4 separate regions of the Homo sapiens genome follow, and regions 1, 2 and 4 are each linked to region 3. The links are contacts of gene promoters, found by promoter capture Hi-C in blood cells and fetal thymus (Javierre and others, 2016). All regions are on one chromosome and are shown on one strand. Each heading gives the region's core, a stretch centred on a gene start or on the middle of the fragment in contact. The rest is flanking DNA. Distances are from core to core; before and after follow the strand shown.

Evidence for each region. The method cuts DNA at HindIII sites, captures the fragments that hold promoters and counts their contacts. A CHiCAGO score of 5 or more calls a contact.
Region 1: a contact is called between a fragment that was not itself captured here and the fragment with the promoter of GPN2-AS1 in region 3, in 6 of 17 cell types (neutrophils, naive CD8 T cells, total CD8 T cells and 3 more). The highest score is 10.5, in neutrophils.
Region 2: a contact is called between a fragment that was not itself captured here and the fragment with the promoter of GPN2-AS1 in region 3, in 1 of 17 cell types (neutrophils). The highest score is 6.4, in neutrophils.
Region 4: a fragment that was not itself captured here is called in contact with the fragment with the promoter of GPN2-AS1 in region 3 in 5 of 17 cell types (neutrophils, endothelial precursors, total CD8 T cells and 2 more); the score reaches 10.8 in neutrophils.

What each region holds. Positions count from the first base shown.
Region 1 is chr1:26,556,353-26,559,979 of GRCh38, forward strand. It overlaps RPS6KA1 (ribosomal protein S6 kinase A1), which reads left to right. Exons shown (of 22, transcript NM_002953.4): 12 at 302-366; 13 at 646-748; 14 at 2,455-2,585. Among named protein-coding and RNA genes, the nearest start is that of MIR1976, 3.6 kb to the left of the region's middle. The HindIII fragment of the contact is 3,642 bases long and covers 1-3,397 here.
Region 2 is chr1:26,464,747-26,467,916 of GRCh38, forward strand. All of the region lies in intron 8 of DHDDS (dehydrodolichyl diphosphate synthase subunit), which reads left to right. DHDDS-AS1 (DHDDS antisense RNA 1) reads right to left here and starts at 2,791. Exons shown (of 3, transcript NR_125953.1): 1 at 2,302-2,791. The HindIII fragment of the contact is 1,205 bases long and covers 706-1,910 here.
Region 3 is chr1:26,874,692-26,878,050 of GRCh38, forward strand. It overlaps GPN2-AS1 (GPN2 antisense RNA 1), which reads left to right and starts at 1,443. Exons shown (of 2, transcript NR_199049.1): 1 at 1,443-1,619. It overlaps GPN2 (GPN-loop GTPase 2), which reads right to left. Exons shown (of 5, transcript NM_018066.4): 5 at 1,441-3,359. RefSeq lists an enhancer at 183-682. The HindIII fragment of the contact is 11,262 bases long and covers 1-3,359 here.
Region 4 is chr1:26,574,668-26,578,125 of GRCh38, forward strand. RPS6KA1 (ribosomal protein S6 kinase A1) reads left to right here. Exons shown (of 22, transcript NM_002953.4): 22 at 1-358. Among named protein-coding and RNA genes, the nearest start is that of MIR1976, 22 kb to the left of the region's middle. The HindIII fragment of the contact is 5,473 bases long and covers 1-3,458 here.

The DNA of each region.
Region 1 (3,627 bases), core at 327-2,826, 320 kb before region 3:
CTCAGAACAAGCTCAGCTTCTGTTCTAACTGTGTGGCCTTGGAGAAGTTGCCTAAAGTCTCTGGGCCTTCCTCCTCCCACTGGTACATTGGAATTTCTTCATCAGAAGCTCCAGAAAGTGGAAAATGCTGAGTAGGTGACAGGCCTTAGGGTGATGGCTGGGTAGATTTGAGGCTGAGTGAGCCCATTTTCCCCTCTGCTCCAGCAGCTGGTCCCAGAGCCCTGTGAGGCTGCTTGGTGGGCAGGGTAATATCTGGGACTTGTGCCAGCCAGGGACAGACCCTTCATTTGGGCTCTTTCAGGCTCCGGCCCTGATGGGGCAGAGGAAATCAAGCGGCATGTCTTCTACTCCACCATTGACTGGAATGTGAGTGTGTCCACCCACACCAGGGCTCTGGCCAGGGCTCAGCCATCTTGGCCACAGGAAGGGTGGTGGGAGGGGAGCCTCTGCCAGCGAGGGCCCCAGACGCAGGAGCAGAGGGTCACAGCCTGCCCTTGAAGACAAGGGCTGGCCTCCTGAGGGCAAGCAATTCCGAGAGCTGGGCAATATGGCCTATGTTCCAAGCCCAGCACCTCCTCCTGCATGGGGCTCCTGGTGGGCTGTTGAGGATGCCATGGTGACCAGAGTGCCCACCCCACTGTGCAGAAGCTATACCGTCGTGAGATCAAGCCACCCTTCAAGCCAGCAGTGGCTCAGCCTGATGACACCTTCTACTTTGACACCGAGTTCACGTCCCGCACACCCAAGGGTGCGTCCCTTATCTGTTTTGTCTGTCTTGGGCTGGTACAGGAGGGAAGCCGGGAGTCGGTGGCAGCTTGGGGGGCAGAGATAGTCAGGGACACTGACAGGCCGAGGTATGCGGGTGGGCAGGCGGGTGAGTTTCTGGCTCCGTGGGACTGACTTTGTCCCTGTCTCACTCCGCCCGACTCTCTCACTATGGGGCTCTGTGGGTCTCTTTGTGTCTGGTGAGAGAGTGGGAGTGGGGATGTGTGGGTGGTGAAGGCCACAGTAGAAAAGCCAGGACCCCTGCCCGGGGCACCTTCCAGCCCACTGGGAAGACCAAACACATCAGGCTTACCATCACGTCAGGGAGAAAGAATCTGACCCAGCCACACTGTGTGGTGGCTGAGCAGAGGTGACAGTGCCCATAGGTCAGGGACAGGCATGGGAATCAGCTTTGGCTGCCCTGACTGCCCGGCCTCCGTGTACTTATCTGGAACAAGGGCACAGCCACAAACCCACTCATTCCCTGGGGTTGCTACAAGAAGCCAGTGAGGGAGCTTCTGGGAAGGAACCTGGTGAATCCTAACTTTTTGGCCAGATATTGACAGTGGGTGTGGGGTGGAATGTTCTGGGAAACCTCCTATAAGGGCATGTTTTAGGAGAGGGTGTGCTTTTCTTCTCTCCTCTCCTCCCCTCCCCTCTCCTCCCCTCCCCTCCCCTCCCCTCCCCTCCCCTTCCCTCTCCTTCCCTTCCCTCTCCTCTCCTCTTTTCAAGATGGAGTCTCGCTCTGTTGCCCAGGCTGGAATGCAATGGCGTGATCTCAGCTTACTGCAACCTCCACCTCCTGGGTTCAAGAGATTCTCCTGCCTCAGCCTCCCGAGTAGCTGGGATTACAGGCATGTGTCAGCACGCCTGGCTAATTTTTGTATTTTTAGTAGAGACGGGGTTTCACCATGTTGGCCAGGCTGGTCTCGAACTCCTGACCTCAGGTGATCCACAAGGGGGTGCTTTTCTCACTGCACTTGCACGCCTCTGATGACAGAGACAGCACTTCTCCAAGCAGTCCGCTGGGCAACGTGACAAGTGCAGCTTCGTAGGAGTCAGGGGCCGGAGGAGCAGCATCAGGCAAGGCTTCTCAGAGGAGGGAGCGTGCGAGTTGAGTCTTGAAGGATAGGCAAGGAGTGGATTATCTAGTTAAAGGGAACAGTGTGTGCAAGGGCTCAGAGACCCCTCTAAGGATCTGAGAAGTCCAACATGGCTCAGCTGTGGTATGGAGAGAGAGGAGGTGAGGATCACAGGGCCCTCAATTGCCAGACTCAGGAGCTGGACTTACTCCTGAAGGCAGACGGGAACCTTTGAAAGGTGTGGGCAGGGTGGCAGATTTGTGGTTGGAACCTTCCCTCTGGCTGCTGTGCAGAGATGGACCTGAAGGGGCTGACGTAAGATGGGGAAGCTGGGGAGGAAGCATCCAGGAAGGGATGAACTGTCTTGGCCTGGGATGGAGGTGGATGTGAGAGTCTTTTTTGTTCCTCATGCGACAGGACTGGGCTGGTCTAATAAACACATATGAGCAGTTGGGCCAAGGCCTGTGATGGACAGGCCCTCTGCAGGCTCCCGCCACGGCCAGCCCCTGAGGCAGGTCTGGAGGCCCTGTGCTCCCCCTTTGCTGGGCTGCCTCAGGGTCGAGGGGACCTCCTCAGGTACCCTCACATTCTCCTTCCATCCGTACAGATTCCCCAGGCATCCCCCCCAGCGCTGGGGCCCATCAGCTGTTCCGGGGCTTCAGCTTCGTGGCCACCGGCCTGATGGAAGACGACGGCAAGCCTCGTGCCCCGCAGGCACCCCTGCACTCGGTGGTACAGGTGAGGGGGGCAGGGGGCTGCTGCTCCATTATCCTTTTCTAAAGAATGGCTGAGTACACAGGCTCTGAGTTGGACAGAACCAGGTTCATACCCTCATGCCACTGTGGGACCAGTAGGGCCTCCAACATAAAACAGGGACAGTAAGGCCCACCTCACACAGTGGCCCTGATAATTGGATGATGATATGGGTGTACATTTCCCAGCACAGAGCCAGGGTCTGGGTACATGTCAGGAGGTGCCCAGGGTGGTGGTGCCGAGTGACTGTCGTGTCTCCGGCATAAGTGTAGCGAAGGACTTGGATCTCATCACACTTGTTCCCCATTTGTACACTTCTACTGCTAATGAAAGTTTCAGGTTGAGAGGCAAGAATGTAGACTGTGGAGCTCATTGCATGGGTTCCAGATTCACAAGATAATGGACTTTGGGGTTTTTTGTTTGTTTGTTTTTGAGACGTAGTCTTGCTCTGTTGCCCAGGCTGGAGTGCAGTGGCACAATCTCAGCTCACTACAGCCTCCACCTCCCAGGTTCAAAAAATTCTCCTGCCTCAGTCTCCCGAATAGCTGGGACTACAGATATACACCACCACACCCAGCTAATTTTTTTTTTTTTTTTTTGTATTTTTAGTAGAGACGGGGTTTTACCATGTTGGCTAGGCTGGTGTCAAACTCCTGACCTCAAGTGATCCGCCCACCTCAGCCTCCCAAGGTGCTGAGATTACAGACATGAGCACCTGACCAGATAATGGACTTTGGATGAGATACTCCCTTCCTCGTGCCTCAGTTTCCTCATCTGTAAATGGGGGAAATGATAGAAGCTTCCTCCATAGAGCTGTTATGAGGATTATTAGAGTTAATACATGTAAAGTTCATGTGGGCTGGGCACGGTGGCTCATGCCTGTAATCCCAGCACTTTGGGAGGCCAAGAAGGGTGGATTGCTTGAGGCCAGGAATTTAAACAGACCCATCTGGCCAACATGGCGAAACCCCGTCTCTAAAAATACAAAAATCAGCTGGGCGTGTTGGCGCGTGCCTATAGTCCCAGC
Region 2 (3,170 bases), core at 58-2,557, 410 kb before region 3:
TGTGCTCTTGCCCCATCACCCAAATTCCCATTTTAAAATCTGAGCTGCTCTGTCTCTAGGCCCTGCCCAATGTGTCCCTATTCTCTGCAGGAAGCCAGGGCAAGGGGCTAGGCTCTGGACCTAGAGTAGCTTACTGAGAGGAAGGCAGCGGGTGGATCGTAAGGGAAGCAGGGACTTGGCTACAAGTTGTGGGGAGCCAGACCTTGGTATCTGAATGGACCATGACAGTCTCCAGGTGGTCACCTAGCCAGTCTTAAAGGCTGGCAAAGGGAGATCTTGACTATGATGCAGTAGGACTTGTCAGCAAAGAGGCAGGGACAAATAGAGAATCAGGCCAGGGAGGGGGTGTGCGGCAGTGCAGAGCAGCTGATCCTCAATCACAAGTTGCATGGATGGTAGGTCCTTGAGAGGTCACTGATGGAGATGAGTAAAAAGTGTTCACCTCATCTCCAAGGATGATATTAGAGAGGGAAAAGACACATGTTCCCACGAAGCTTCCTGTAGTACATTTGTCACAATTTAAACGGGCTGGATTGAACATTATATTTCTTCTGCTCTTCAGGTTGTCACTATCTTCTCCTCAGGATAAAAGCTTGAGTTATGTATGTATGCATATATGTATGCATGTGGAAATGGGGTCTCGCCATGTTGCCCAGGCTGGTCTTGAGCAGCTGGGCTCAAGCGAGCCTCCCACCTTAGCCTAAAAGCTTGAGTTAATGTCTCAGACATTCATGACTTTGAATATTGGCACTGCCTACATAGCTATATGACTGTACAGTTACTTAACCCCTCAGAGTATCATTTTCCTCACCTGTAAAATGAGAGAAGTAGCGTTTACAGTAATACCTACCTTGCAGGTTTGTGATAGGGATTCAGTAAGCTAACACATGTCAAGTGCTGAGTGCAGTGGCTGGAACAGAGTTCATTTTCCAAGAATGGTGGCCAATATTGTTCCCCACATGTGTGTCTCTTGGCCTCTCCTCAGACTCCTCTCTGGAAAAGCACCCTGCACATCCTGTCCCCAGTACAACTCCCCAGGCAAGGAGACTCTGAGGGTGCTTCAGAACATCATGTTTCTGGTAGGAGGTGCCCTTCTCTGCCTGAGAGCAGCCCTCAGAAATGCATTCCTCATGCTGCTGACCTGGGCTGGCTGGTTGCAGCTTGGGGAAGGACTTTTCATTGGCTAATGTTTTGAAGCCAAGGACCTGCAGCCTCTCTCCAGGTGCCAACAGAGTGGTAGAGGACTTTTAGATTTAAGTACTGGAGGGACTATTACATCTTGTTCTCTGATTCTACCAAGGAGAGAATAAGAGCAGAGAGGGATAATGCCCAGGAGGAATTTAGATTCATAGGTTAGAACCACATTTCTCAAAGTGAGCTTCTTGGAGCCCTTGCACCAAGATTGGATAAGGTCTGTACAAAAAGTCTCTAAGGAAAGAATTAACGCCCTCACTTACCCTGATTGGTCATTATACAAGGATAGTAGACAAATGGTCAGGGAGAGAAAAGTTGACCTCTAGGACTTCTGTTAGCTTGGATTTCCCAAGGGTAAGTACTTGAGAAGAACTGGAAACACCTCTGAGATTGAAAGGGTAGATTCAGACCATGTGGAAGCTGGATAGACAGGTATCCAGATACAGGCCACCAGCTTTTCCACCCCTAGAAAGTAGAGCTTATACACAGGCACGAGATACACTTCACATTGTCCTCTCAAGAAGTTATCTTAGTGGAGAAGCCAAGGGAACTTCAGCCATCTCAGCCTCGCTGTCATTTTCTGTAAAATGACGAGCAGACACCCTCCCAACTCTGCTATCTGAACAATGAACTGCTAATTCCTGGCAGACAGGGGCCAGGCTCTGCCTGGGCTACAGCCCCCATTGCTGGCATGCACTCTGATGCCATCTGGAAGAAGCTTGCGCCTCATGAAGTGGCTTTAGCTAGCTCCATATTTCCTCCCTCTGTTGCTGAGCGTCCCCCATCCTTTCTGTTCTGCCAGAAACTTAGACTACTTAGCCCAGTCCACAAGTGGCGGTGATAGAACAGCTAACAGTTAATAGCCAAGCAGTAGGCTGAAAATTCATTATCTCATTTTTCCTCAAACAACCCAGTGAGGTGGGTACTCTTATCCCGGTTTTGCAGAGTAAGAGAGAGCCTTAGAGAGGTGAGGGAGGCCTTAGGAACTTCTCAAACCCCAGTGCTCCAGGTGGACTTACTCTGGCCTTAACAGGCTCTTCGGTTCCATGCATCTTTGCTCATTACTCCCACTGCCAGAATATTCTCCCTGCCCCCCACACACCTCACCTCTGTTTGAATCCTCCTCATTGGTTAAAGGGCCAGCTCAAATTCTGTCTGTCCATGAAGGTCACTGCTCCGTGATGTTCATCAGCCACACTTGCTTTCTCCTCTGAACTGCATGACCCTTACCACATCCTATTTTGCATCGTGGCACTCTGTGTGCATGGCTGTACAATCAGCCTGTAAGCACCTGGATTGCTGGGATCGTGTCCTGCGCATCTCCATATCCTCAAAAAAAATCCTGTATGTAGCACCCAGGGAGCCTCCTGACCAAGGCCTGGAAGAAGCCCTTCCAGCAAGACGGAGAGCTCTACGGCAACTGTTCAAGCCCGAAGTCCTCATAGCTCCACATGTAATTCATTGTAATAGCAGAAGAGAAGTATTCTTGAATGCCTGGGATTATTCAGGAGCCGGGGGGGACAGTCCAGAATTCTCATTTGTCATCCTTATTCATGCAGTAAACCTTTATTGCTGAGAGACAGCAAATCAGTTCCCTGCTCCATGTCTGTCTCCAGCAGAAAGTACCTCCCTCACAGCTCCATTGTGAGGGTCAAGTGAGGCAACAGATGAAGTGGTTGTGCACATGTAAGATATTCTTTAAACCATGAAGACAGAGCAGTCAAGGTGCTTACAGGCTGATTAGGACAAAAACATGTATACAAGTTTATCGTAATACAAGGTAGAATGTGGGAAGGGTCATCAGGGTATAGGATACCATAGGAAAATAGAGTTTCTCACACATGGAATAGGTTTGGCAGGAGGAGCTCTAGTGCAAAGGCTTTGCAGGTCAGTTAGACTGGCAGGAACAGAGAGGATCAGTGAGGCACAGGAAAGCCTTGGTTCTGCTCCAAAGGGATTTTCCGCTCTTCTGTATC
Region 3 (3,359 bases), core at 193-2,692:
CCCTAAATCCCCACCCCATCTTGTCACAGCCCCTGTCTTGGCCCATCTAGACACCTGGGCTTCTGGGGCTGCCTGGAGTTAGCTCCCTGGCTGGAAAAGGTCACACTGGGCTTGAAATGAGGGACACAGGTTTCCACATCTTTAGCAGGCCTGATGCCATGGAGGTATGTGCTGCAACTCCTTCTAAACGGGACAAGAAAAGAGAGTGAATGGCCCAGATCAGGCTGGGTAAGTAAAGACTCAAAAGCCAGAGACAAGAGAAGAGAGAGAGGAGGGGACTAGTGTTTTGCTAGAGAATTTCCCTCCAGGATTCCGGGATAATTGGGCCTCTTCACTGCTTTCAAAATTGGCGAGGGCCTTAATAGTGCTTGGGTGGGTCTGAAGCCACTCCCCTCCCCCCTCAGGATTCTTGAGAAAGGGACAGAGAATTCCTCAAATCGGCCTTCCCTTTCTCTTTCCCACAGATCCTAATGGGACCATACTTCCTATATTCTCAGCCACCAGCGGGTGAGCATTTTGCTAATCCAGGCAGACTGGATGTGCTTCAGCTCTGTGGGCTTTAGGGCCTCACCCTCATGCCTAAGCCTCTTTGTCAGGCTGGAAACCTTTCCAATTACCTGTGGTCCCTGCTAAGTTCTTCCAATTCTACACTGTCTTCTAATTGTTGAGGTTCCCAGTTCAGAGCCAAGAAATGCATATAACCTAATGTCAGTGGTTAGTAGGGATGACCAGGAAGGTCCCTTCTAAGACACTCAGAGAGGGCTTCCTCCCTCCCGAAGTTGTAGAGAATTGTCAAGGGAGGTCTGGAGATGAGAAGAGCAATTTCAGACACTATCAGTGAGATGTAAAGTGGCACATTTTTTGGAAAGCATTTTGGCAACATGAATCCAGAACCTGGAATATGTCAGTTATTTCATTTCCAGGACTACCTCCCAAGTTAAAAATCAGAGACTCAGACAATGATTTGGGTACGAGGATATTAATCACACTATTTACAAAAGTAAAAGTTGGTGATGACTTGTAGGCTAGTAGTAGGCTAACCACGGGAGTATGGATAGGTAAACAATGTTATAGCCAAACCATGGACTATTACCAAAGTGACATTAAAAAGGTTATTTACTTGATTGTTTGAGACAGGGTCTCACTCTGTTGCCCAAGCTAGAGTGCAGTGACACAATCATAGTTCACTGCAGCCTCCACCTCCTGGCTCAAGTGATCCTCCCACTTCAGCCTCCCAGAGTCCTAGAATTACAGGAATTGTATCTATTTTTTATTACATGGAATGGTGTTAACTGAAAAAGGCAGGATACAACACAATTATAAAATATCCCACTTATATAAATGCAATATCCACCCCAGGTATAAAAATAAGGCTGAAAGAATACATAAAATATCTCCAGGTATTTACAGAGATGAGAAAAAAAGAGAATACACAAAATATACATTTGAATATAGAATTTATTTTTCTCTTAAACAGATGACCCCATAGAAAGTTTCCGTTATGGGATTCTGGGTGACTCATTTTCGTTTTTTTTTTTTTTGAGATGTACTTTCCATCTTGTTACCCAGGCTGGAGTGCAATGGCGCGATCTCCGCTCACTGAAACTTCCGCCTCCCAGGTTCAAGCGATTCTCCTGCCTCAGTCTCCTAAGTAGCTGGAATTACAGGCGCATGCCACCATGCCCTGCTCATTTTTTTGTATTTTTAGCAGAGACAGGTTTTCACCATGTTGGTCAGGCTTGTCTTACACTCCTGACCTCAGGTGATCAGCCCGCCTTGGCCTCCCAAAGTGCTGGGATTACAGGCGTGAGCCACCGTGCTCGGCCTTCTCTTTCATTTTCTAAGTTTTTTACTTTCCTATATTTATTAGGAAATTTAAAAATAATCTTAAGGATGACTGCCACATGCCAGCCATAATGGAGGATGGTCTTTCTTCTACCCTAGACATTTCACACTGAACAGGCCTCACTTGGATCTCGGACATCTTCCTTTCTGCACTGTGCAGATCCCCTCAGTATATGCAGAGAACAGAAAATCATTTTGCTGCCAGTGGAAGGTAGACAGAAGCTACGTTTATTGGGGAAGAAAATACCCTTGCTGTCAAACCATGGCCTGAAAATAAAGGCCTTGGATTACTCCCACCCATCTCCACTCCATGGGTGCAGAGAATGCTGAGGGTGCTTGCATACGAGACCATAAAGTTGTAAAGGATGCCTTCCAGCCCCCATTTGGTTTGTTATGGTGAGAGCTGGGGCCTCTGTGAGTGGCAAGCATCAAAACCCACGACCACAGCCGTTGGTACTGCTTTCAAAAGCATAGCACCCACCCTAATGCCCTGATAAAGGATTTGTCCAGTAGCCTGGGCGTCAGGATTCCTGGGCTCTAGGCCCCACAGGTGATTCACAGCTAGCCCCAGGCTGTGCCTCCTGGCCTCAGTTTTCCTGGCTTGCTCTATTGGTACTTCCTACCTACTCTGTGGGGTGTTAATAGGGGTGAGGTGCTTTGAACTTCTCAGATGAAAGAGGCTGGGAAGCAGCACCCAGTTATTATCCCCTTTACAGCCAGGCGTGGGAGCTGAGGTTGCTTTCATACTGTTCCAGCCACAGTAGCCTCCTCATAGCCCCTCATTCATCTGCCTTTGGCTCTGGCTGCCACAACCAGAAAGCAAAGCAGTCAGTCCTATTTCAATGCTGTTTCAGAACAGATGTCCCTAAATTAATTTGCCAACTGCCCAAACCACTGGTGAACTATCTATGATTCAGTAATACTTTACAGGTGCCTAATTTCTTTCTCCTGATTGGCTGCAAAACCTGTGGGACAAGGGCTGTGACTTCTCACCAATAAATATACCAAAGGAGGGATACTCGCAATTTAGTCAGCAAAATGGGTTATGAGAAAGCCAGGCTGACCAAAGTTCAAACTTCTCATCTTTCTGCTTCCTCACTGTAACACGGGCAATGGCTTATTAATTCTCCCCATCCTGTCTATCTCTAATGAGGATTGTGTGTGTGGAAGCACTCTAAAATACCAAGCACTTCATATGTGTTAATAAGTCCAAATGTGGCCGGGTGCAGTGGCTCACGCCTGTAATCCCAGCACTTTGGGAGGCCAAGGCGGGTAAATCATGAGGTCAGTAGTTCAAGACCAGCCTGAACAACATGGTGAAACCCCGTCTTTACTAAAAATACAAAAATTAGCCGGGCATGTGGTAGGCGCCTGTAATCCCAGCTACTCGGGAGGCTGAGGCAGAGAATTGCTTGAACCTGGGAGGCGGAGGTTGCAGTGAGCCGAGATTGTGCCACTGGACTCCAGCCTGGGCGACAGAGAGAGACTTTGTCTCCAAAAAAAGAAAGTCCAAA
Region 4 (3,458 bases), core at 134-2,633, 300 kb before region 3:
GGCTGTTTAGCAGAACTCATTCTATCCCCAATCAGCTCCTTTTCCGTTCTGTTCTGCTGGGAGTTCTAGAACCACTTCCTGCTACAGGAGGGGTCTCATGTCCTGCTGGCTTCCAGCTTCAGGCACCAGCATCCACCTTGGCTCTGCCAGTGGATCCCCTGCGGTCAGGCTGGGCAGCCCCAGAGAGAGGATGTGGAAAGCACTTTTTGGCTGACTTCATCTGGGGTTGGCAACAGGACAGAGTTCACAGGAGGCCAGTGGGCGGGCCATGAGGGACAGGGTCTTTTTTCATTTCTTCCTCAGCTGGTTACTCAGGGTTCATCTGTCCATGGCCTTTCTAATAAACTGTTGAGTTGAAGCACGCTCTCCTGCACTCTTCATCCCTGAATTTACCCTCTCTCTGCTATCGGATGTTGAAGACATTGGCAGTGACAGAAAATGGGCCAGGGCCAGTTAGCCCAGCTGCTTGGAACCAGGTCATCTGGGGAGTGTGTGGGAATCCCGCTGGCCTGGCCCACGTGTTCCTGCCAGGGGATTCCATTATGGTATTGATAACAGTATTATTAGCCAATGGTGACCAAGTGCCAGGCACTATGCCTGGGCCTCACATGAATATCTCATTTAATCTTAACCCTGTGAGGTAGATGCTCTGTATTATCCCTGTTTTATAGATGGGGAAACAGGCTCAAGTTGGGGAATGACATTTTCTCATGCAGTATTTTCTGAGCACTCATTCTGGCCCTGTTCTGGATGCTGGTGAACCAGGTAAAGAACAAGGTCATTGTGTCCAGGGGTCTTACTTCCCAGTAGGGGAAACGGACACTTAACAAGCCATGGTCAGCTACTGATAAGACACATACAGAATTAAACTGGGGTGAGATATTGGGTAATCAGGGAAGGCCATTCTGGGGAGGTAACCCAGGAGCTGAGATCTGAATGGTGAGAAGGGGTCAGCCAAGACTGGTAGGCAGAGGGCAGTCAGGACAAAGGCCATGAGGGGGAAACAGGCTCGGTGTGCTCAGGGATGAGAGGAGGCTGATGTAGCTGTGACCCCAGAGCCAGGCGTTTGCCCAAGATGAGGCTGGAAAGGAGGCAGAGGCCAGTTATGCTAGGCACTGTAAGCCAGGATTAGGCGTGCATTTAATTCTGAGTGAGGCGCAAGCTCCTAAAATAATTTGAGCAGGAAAGTGACATGATTTGATCATGATTTGATTCACATTTTTAAGAGATCACTCTGGGCCAGGTGCAGTGGTTCACGCCTGTTATCCCACCACTTTGGGAGGCCGAGGCAGGCAGATCACTTGAGGTCAGGAGTTCAAGACCAGCCTGGCCAACATGGCGAAACTCTCTCTACTAGAAATACAAAAATTAGCTGGGTGTGGTGGCGCATGCTCCCACCCATCAGCTCGCAAGGCTGAGGCATGAGAATTGCTTGAATCTGGGAGACAGAGGTTGCAGTGAGCCGCGATCGCACCACTGCACTCCAGCCCAGGCGACAGAGCGAGACTGTCTCAAAAAAATAAAAGATCACTCCGATTGCTCTGTAGAGAATTTGGACAGTGAGGTGGGGAGGCAGGAGGGAAGCAAGGTGACCAGGTTGGTGGCTACTGCAGTAGCCCAGGCAAGAGATGAGGTGGCTTGGACTAGGGTGGTGGGATGGAGATTGGGATGGAGTAGATGGGGTCAGGATATGCTTTGGAGGTAAAGTAGACAGCACTTGCTGGCAGTTTGCATGCAGAGGATAAGGGAAACAGAAGATTCAAGGATATCTTCTAGATTTTTGGGGAAAGAGTTTTGGGGGAAGCATTGGAGAGAAATAGGTTTGAGGAAAATTTTTAGAGCTCTGTGGGAGGTAACTTTTAAGTATCCAAATGGCTGGGCATGGTGGCTCACGCCTGTAATCCCAGCACTTTGGGAGGCCGAGGCAGGTGGATCACCTGAGGTTGAGAGTTCGAAACCAGCCTGACCAACATGGAGAAACCCCGTCTCTACTAAAAATAATAGAAAATTATGCCGGGCGCAGTGGCTCATGCCTGTAATCCCAGCACTTTGGGAGGCCGAGGCGGGCGGATCAGGAGGTCAGGAGATCGAGACAATCCTGGCTAACATGGTGAAACCCTGTCTCTACTAAAAATACAAAAAATTAGCCGGGCCTAGTGGCGGGCACCTGTAGTCCCAGCTACTCAGGAGGCTGAGGCAGGAGAATGGCATGAACCCAGAAAATGGAGCTCACAGTGAGCCGAGATCGTGCCACTGCACTCCAGCCTGGGTGAGAGAGCGAGACTCCATCTCAAAAAATAAATAAATAAATATAAATAAAAATATCCAAATGGAGATGTCAAATAAGAGTTGTAATTAGAAGTTGAAGTTCTAGGGAGAGATCTGAACTGGAAAGATAAATTTGGAAGTCATTAGCTTGGAGAAAGTTTGCAAAGCCAAGAGACGGGGCTTCTGAGAGTGTGGTCCACATACCAGTAGCATCAGCATCATCTGGGAGCTGGGTAGAAGTGCTGAATCTCAGGCCTGTCCCCAGACCTGGTTAATAGGAATCTATCTTATAACAAGGTCTACATGTGATTTCTGTGCATATTAAAGTTTGAGAAGTGCTGTTCTAGGGCCTGAGCAAAGATGAGGGGGTGGGGGGATGCCTGTGCTGAGCCCTGGAGCACCAGCAAGGGACACTCAGGGATGACAGCCAGAGGACCCCCCCACCCCCAGTCTGGCAAGATTCCAAGCCTTATGAACCAGGCCTTGGTTTCCATTATGTCTCGGCCGCCCCACTTTACAGATTTTAGAAAGCTAGGGCCTTAGAAGTGAATAAGTCCTGTTATGATGGAAGGAGATTCTGATAACAGCAGCTAAGTTTTGGGGCTGGCCTAAGTGTACGGATTCTAAGCCCGGCAGCCTCCCCACAGGAGCAAGGAGGGTGCTGTTGGGGCCCCATGGGCTAGGAAGCCCTCCTTTGCAACCAGTGACACTTATGTGGTACTTAGCCCCAACCCATGTCCTGTGTGTTTCACTTCTTGGAGACTTGGTTTCCCCATCTTGGAACCAACATTTCCTGTCCCACCCATCATCCAGGGTTGTCTCCCCTGGACCCCATCACCCAGCTGGAATCCTGAGCATCACCCTGCCTCCTTCCCCCCACTTCTGCATCCTGCCACCATCAATTCTGTTTCCTAAATATTTGGAGGATCCATCCCCTCCTCTCCATCCTCCCTGCCCTTCTCATATTTTTGTTCTTCCAGTAGCCTACTAAATCTCTCCAGACTTTTGTGTCCCCAACATCCTCCATTTACAATCACAAATCTGACCCAGCATCTGCCCTGAAGTGACTCGTCACTGTCTACAAGATATTGCTGAGGCATCCTCGCTTGAATTCAGTGTCCTGTGTGATCTGGCCCCCACCAAGATCCCAGTGTCAACTCTGTAACTTGTCCCCAAACTGCTCACAAGAC